Regions from separate parts of the Homo sapiens genome. Here region 2 is linked to region 1. Evidence: promoter capture Hi-C in 16 types of primary human blood cells and fetal thymus (Javierre and others, 2016). All regions are on one chromosome and are shown on one strand. The core of a region is centred on a gene start or on the middle of the fragment in contact, and the rest is flanking DNA. Distances in the headings are between cores, read along the strand shown. Region 1 holds the start of IFNL2 (interferon lambda 2). Region 2 holds the start of CLC (Charcot-Leyden crystal galectin).

The links. Contacts are between HindIII fragments. The CHiCAGO score rates a contact against its expected background, and 5 or more counts as called.
Region 2: a contact is called between the fragment with the promoter of CLC here and the fragment with the promoter of IFNL2 in region 1, in 6 of 17 cell types (total B cells, M0 macrophages, naive CD8 T cells and 3 more). The highest score is 15.7, in total B cells.

Annotation. Positions count from the first base shown.
Region 1 is chr19:39,266,584-39,269,699 of GRCh38, reverse strand. It overlaps IFNL2 (interferon lambda 2), which reads right to left and starts at 1,304. Exons shown (of 6, transcript NM_172138.2): 1 at 1,122-1,304; 2 at 842-1,023; 3 at 471-548; 4 at 63-212. The coding sequence starts at 1,131. The HindIII fragment of the contact is 23,103 bases long and covers 1-3,116 here.
Region 2 is chr19:39,736,344-39,739,429 of GRCh38, reverse strand. It overlaps CLC (Charcot-Leyden crystal galectin), which reads left to right and starts at 1,401. Exons shown (of 4, transcript NM_001828.6): 1 at 1,401-1,492. The coding sequence starts at 1,478. The HindIII fragment of the contact is 8,050 bases long and covers 1-3,086 here.

The DNA of each region.
Region 1 (3,116 bases), core at 55-2,554:
GGCAAGGGGAAGGACGCTGCTCAGAGCTCACAGACCTGGGTGCCCAGGCCCCAACGACTCACACAGGCCCGGAACTGGGAGAGGATATGGTGCAGGGTGTGAAGGGGCTGGTCCAAGACGTCCACCAGGGCTGGGTCAGTGTCAGCGGTGGCCTCCAGAACCTTCAGCGTCAGGGCCAGCTCAGCCTCCAAAGCCATGGGGCGCTCCCTCACCTGAGGAGAGGTGAGAAAGAGCAGGTGAGGGGGGAGGTGAGGGGAACAGGTTGGGGAGCAGGATAGAGAGGAACAAGTGAAGGTGACAGGCACAGGGGAGAGGGCACAGCCAGTGTGGTCAGGTGGGAGCGGAGGGAAGGGAGAGCAGGTGTGAGGAGAAGAGAGAGAGACAAGGGAGAAAGAGACGGTGAAGGGGCCACTACAGAGCCAGGTGAGTGGGGCTGGGAGAGCAGGGGTGGGCCTGACTCCCCCTCTCACCTGCAGCTGCCTCAGGTCCCAGGTCCTGGGGAAGAGGCGGGAGTGGCACCTGCAGTCCTTCAGCAGAAGCGACTCTTCCTAGACAGCAAAGGCACAGGTTAGCCCCAGCAGGAGGGGTGGAGGTTAGACCATCCTGGTGGGATTGGAGGATGGCTGACAACAGGATAGGGGAGGTTAACTGCTGGGAGGATGGTAGAGGACCCTCTTCTACAGGAAAACATGAGTCAGTCCCTACAGTAGGAGCATGAGATAGCCCACTGCAGGGAGGGTGGAGGCTAGCCCAGTGAAGGAAGCTGGGAGTGGGAAAGCATGGTGACGCTTGGAGTGGGGGTGGAGGCTAGTCCATGGCAGGAGGGCAGGGGGAGACTCACTAAGGCATCTTTGGCCCTCTTAAAGGCCTGCAGCTCCTGTGGAGACAGGGACTTGAACTGGGCTATGTGGCAGCCCCTTGCATCCGGGAGAGCCCCGTGGAGCCTGGCGACAGGAACTGCTCCAGTCACGGTCAGCACTGCGGCCATCAGCACCAGCACTGGCGTGCAGTCCCCAGTCATGTCTGTGTCACAGAGAGAAAGGGAGCTGAGGGGATGGAGAGGCTGCCCACTGAGGGCAGGGGCTGCAGGAGCTGAGCACGGACAGAGATGTGGGACTCACCTAGTTTCATTCCTGATCTCTGGTCTTTGTCAGCAGAAGAAACACTCTGAGGCTGTCACCCAGGGTCTGTTTGGGTCTTGTCTGGAGTCTCTGTTCTTTTCAGTCCCCTCTTCTGGATCTCAGACTGTGTCCTGGCTTTGACTCTTTCTGTCAGTTTTGAGCTCTGTCTGGGATGTAATTCCTGCCTGAGCTCCATGGGGCAGCTTTTATCCCTGACAGAAGGGCAGTCCCAGCTGATGTAGGAAAAGTGAAAACACAGCCTCAGGTAAGACACCGGCCACCAGGGGAGCCCCAGGCTGGGAAAGCCCAGAGCAGGGCAGGGCTAGTGAGCCAGATGAGCAGCTGGAGGGAAAGAGAAACTGATGGAGACTCAGGGGTAACCTACAGGAAGGTATGTTCCCAGGAGGATTCCACCTGCTCTGGTTTTGTTGTTGTTTAAGACAGGGTCTCACTCTGTCACTGGAGTGCAATGGCATGATCACAGCTCACTGCAGCCTCAAACTCCTGGGCTCAAGCCATCCTCCTCACCCAGCCTATTAAAGTGCTGAGATTACAGGCCTGAGCCACCCCTCCTGGCATATATATATATATATATTTTGAGACAGGGTCTTGTTCGGTCACCCAGGCTGGAGTGCAGTGCAAAATCTTGACTAACTGCAACCTCCACCTCCTGGGTTCAAGCGATTCTCTTGCCTTAGCCTCCCAAGTAGCTGAGATTACAGATTTGTGCCACCATTCCCAGCTAATTTTTATGGTTTTAGTAGAGATGACAGTTCACCAATTGGCCAGGCTGGTCTCGAACTCTTGACGTCAAGTGATCTGTCTGTCTTGGCCTCCCAAATTGCTGGGGTTGCAGGCATGAGCCACTGTGCCCAGAGGCCATGATTTCTTTCTTTCTTTCTTTTTTCTTTTTTTTTTGAGATGGAGTCTTGCTCTGTAGCCCAGGCTGGAGTGCAGCAGCGTGATCTCGACTCACTGCAACCTCCACCTCCTTGGTTCAAGGGATTCTTCTGCTTCAGCCTCCCGAGTAGAAAGGACTATAGGCATGCACCACCACGCCCAACTAATTTTTGTATTTTTAGTAGAGACGGGGTTTTGCCATATTGGCCAGGTTGGTCTTGAACTCCTGACCTCGTGATCTGCCTTCTTCGGCCTCCCAAAGTTCTGGGATTATAGGCGTGAGCCACCGCGCCCGGCCAGAGGCATATATGTGTGTGTATATATATATATATATATATATATAGAGAGAGAGAGAGAGAGAGAGAGAGAGAGAGAGCATGAGAGAGAGTGAGTGAGCAAGAGAGATGGAGTCTCGCTCTGTTGCCCAGGCTGGAGTGCAGAGGCACCATCTCAGCTCACTGCAACCTCTGCCTCCTGGGTTCAAGTGATTCTCCTGCCTCAGCCTCTTGAGTAGCTTGGATTACAGGCATGTGCCACCATGCCCAGCTAATTTCTGTATTTTTAGTAGAGACAGGGTTTCACCATGCTGGCCAGGCTAGTCTTGAACTCCTGACCTCATGATCCACCTTCCTCGTCCTCCCAAAGTGCTGGGATTACAGGCATGAGCCTCTGAGCCCAGCCAAGGCCAATATTTCTTAATTGCCCAGGCAAGGAAGGACTCAGGAATATGAGGCTCTGCTCAAGAACTGAGGTGTGACGAAGGACTTGAAGGACACCACGTGGGTGCCGTCTTTCTTAGGGAAGTTCAGGCAGTGGTGAAGAGCATGGGTCTTGGAGATGAAGGGTCTGGGGTTCAAACCTGGTTCTGACCCTCACTAGCCGTGTGACCTTGGCAAGGAGGGGTGCATTCAGCAACGCAGATTGCTAATGCACAGATTTGGAGAAAAAATTAATAACACAATTGTTTGTGTATTTATGTGAGTGATTATTTAATAGAATCCACTCATTAAGACCATACTAGGACCTCAGTTGGAGAGTTTAAAACGTGATCTCAACGGACACTACTCCTCCACAAGGCAAGTATGCTAACCCATC
Region 2 (3,086 bases), core at 152-2,651, 470 kb before region 1:
CATCCCCAGATTATTTTAGAGCAAATCCCAGATATTATATAATTTCATACACAAAACCTAAAGTTTTTCGGGGGAACAGTGTGTGCTTGGAAAGATGTAGTTGAAAAGAAAGACTGAAAGCAAGTCGTAGGGCATAATGGATTTCTGAAGAAATAGTTGCAACCAGCAGAAGTATGGGCTATTGTGCAGAGGATATGGAAGTTAAAGAAGATCAATCTCTCTGCATCACTGAAAGGATTGCTGGAATGCCTGAGAAGTAAATAACATCAACATCTTTATCCACAGCTTACTAGGTGGCCAGACGCCCTGAACTGATATTTCTTCCCCAGTTCAGATGAATAGCTGGGATATTACTCAAAATTCTATTGCATATCTGTTGCAAGGAAAAGCAGTTCCTCTTTCCCTTCTGTGGTAATTTCTTACAAGCTACAGTTCTGGGCAGGGTGTGAGGGTGGTTGCCTAGAACGGGGTTTCCAAAGCTCCTTAATTGTGGCCTCTGACCCTTTTCATTGCTTCCATGTCCATACCCAGAGTCAAAACCCAAGGAATGCAGTGGGATGACATTACAAATTAATCTTAAGGAAATACGTTATATACCAAAAGAACTGTGTGATTGTGCTGATTTATATGAGCAGAATCTTGGAGTGCATGCTTGGAAATGAATTGTCAAGGTTTTAGATCAGGGAAAGTGGAATTTATTGTCGGGTCAAGCACAACTAATATTAATGCTAATGCATCCTCATCGCTTAGCTCCCACTTATGAGTGAGAAATCTCACCTTTCTCCAAGAATCTGCAGGAGAACGACAGCCTCAGATTTTGATTCACATGAAAAGAAATAGGGAAATAAGAGGGCGTACCTAAAGCCCAGGTGTCTGAGAGACAGAGTGGGAGTGGCTCTCACCTGGCAGAGCCAAGGGATCTGAGGGTGGGTAAAGAAGACACAAGTGTTTTCTCTACTTCTGTCCCCAGGTCCTGCGAATGATCAAGATCTATGCTCTCCCAGAACCACTGGAGAAGGAGGAGGAGGATTTTCTTTCAAAGCCAAGTGCCTTGCCCCCAGGATCTCCAGCTTTTTACCATTGCACAGGTTAGGAGAACGCACACCTTCCTGGTAGATTCTGCACAGTGGAGAAAAGGCTTCATGAGAAGCATGGAGGCTGGAACTCACACCACTCATCCTCACTCCATCGTCTTTATCTGTGCATTTCCCTGGTGACCCCTTCCTCCTCCAGTACCTCCCTCACTGTCGTTTCTGCTGCATCACAGGCACAGGCCTCCAAACAGGTGTGGTTGTGACTGAGTCTGTTTCTGACACCCCACCCCTTCTCACTGTGTGAGGAAACCTTCCTGGGAGGGGCTTGGAATCAGGAATAAAGCCAGAGGCAGGGCTGATAGGGGCCATTTAAATTCTGCAGCTCAGAGATTCACACAGAAGTCTGGACACAATTCAGAAGAGCCACCCAGAAGGAGACAACAATGTCCCTGCTACCCGTGAGTTAAAAAGGCACAGCCTTCAATAATCTCAGGTCACACAGAAAAGGGAAGAGGGAGATTTTATGGGATGAAAATATGAAAATTTCTACTGTGAATGCTTTACTGAGAGTTGTGGGTGTGTGGAAGAGAGACCCTAGGGCTATGGTATCTGAGATGCTCCTGGGGTAGGGGGGTAGGGGGTGTGGATGCTGGAACATTGTGACCCTCTGTGAGCATGTGATGGTATCTGATGAGAGTAAACTCTGCTAAAAATGATGTGACTTTAGACGGGATGTGTATGGCCCTCCAGGATATGGGTGGGTGTGTAAGTGATTGTAATCAGGTGACTGTGTTTTGTCTTCATGACTGTGATGTGAGTGTGTGTGTGAGCACAGCCGGACCAGTGCATGAGCATCTTTATATGCACAGTGAGCAGGTGTGTGTGACTCAGTGAGTGGCACGGCTCTGTGTGACTGTGAGTGTGTGTGCTGGAATGTGACTGGGTGTTGAACTGGGAACATGCATGTGGCCTTCTGTGCATGTGAAGGTTCCTCCCCACATAGCAGTACTCTGTCTAACTTCCCTTGTGCATCACTGTGGATCCCCGGTGACAGAACTTGTGGGATCTTGGGGCCCTTGAGTTACCGAGGACTTATCTCTGAGCATTTATGAGAGCAGAATGCATGAATTCTCAGGTGCCTTTTCCCAAGCAGAATGGGGGTGAGAAACAGACGATGGGGCTGATGGTTCCTTAGGTGGAATCTGCACACAGTGACCACTGGCTCCTGCCTCCAGCCTCAGGTCTCTCCCTGTCTCCTACCCTAGCCTGGCCTTCCCATTGAGTGCCAGGATGCTAGAGAAGGACATTGAGGGACTTGATTTAAGAGACTGAATCACCCAAAACCAGGAAGGTACAAGGCAGAGCTTACAGTGGATATTCATCAAGATGTTTGCTGAGGCCTGTAGTCTCAGCACTTTGGGTGGCCGAATTGAAAGGCCCATGTCAGGCCAGGACTGGTAGACCAGCCTGGGAGACATAGCAAGATTTCATCTTTCCAAAAATTTAAAAATTTATTGAATGTGGTGTTGCATACCGTAGTTCCAGCTGCTGGGGGGCATATGCAAGAGGTTCACTGAAGCCCAGGCCTTCAAACCTGCAGTAATTTTTTTTTTTTTTTTTTGAGACAGAGTCTCGCTCTGTTTCCCAGGCTGGAGTGCAGTGGTGCAATCTCGGCTCACTGCAACCTCCACCTCCCGGGTTCAAGCGATTCTCATACCTCAGCTTCCCGAGTAGCTGGGATTACAGGCTTGTGCCACCACTCCTGGCTAATTTTTGTATTTTCAGTAGAGATGGGGTTTCTCCATGTTGGCCAGGCTGGTCTCGAACTCCTGACCTCAAGTGATGCACCCACCTTGGCCTCCCAAAGTGCTGAGATTACAGGCGTGAGCCACCACGCCCAGCCTGCAGTGAGTTTTGATGGTGCCACTGCATTCCAGCCTAGGTGACAGTGTGACCCTGTTTCAAAAAAGAAAAATACCATCCATTTATAGATTCTAGCCAATAACTTCCCTGACCCACAATCTTCATTTGTGCAAGTACTGCGGTTGTGCT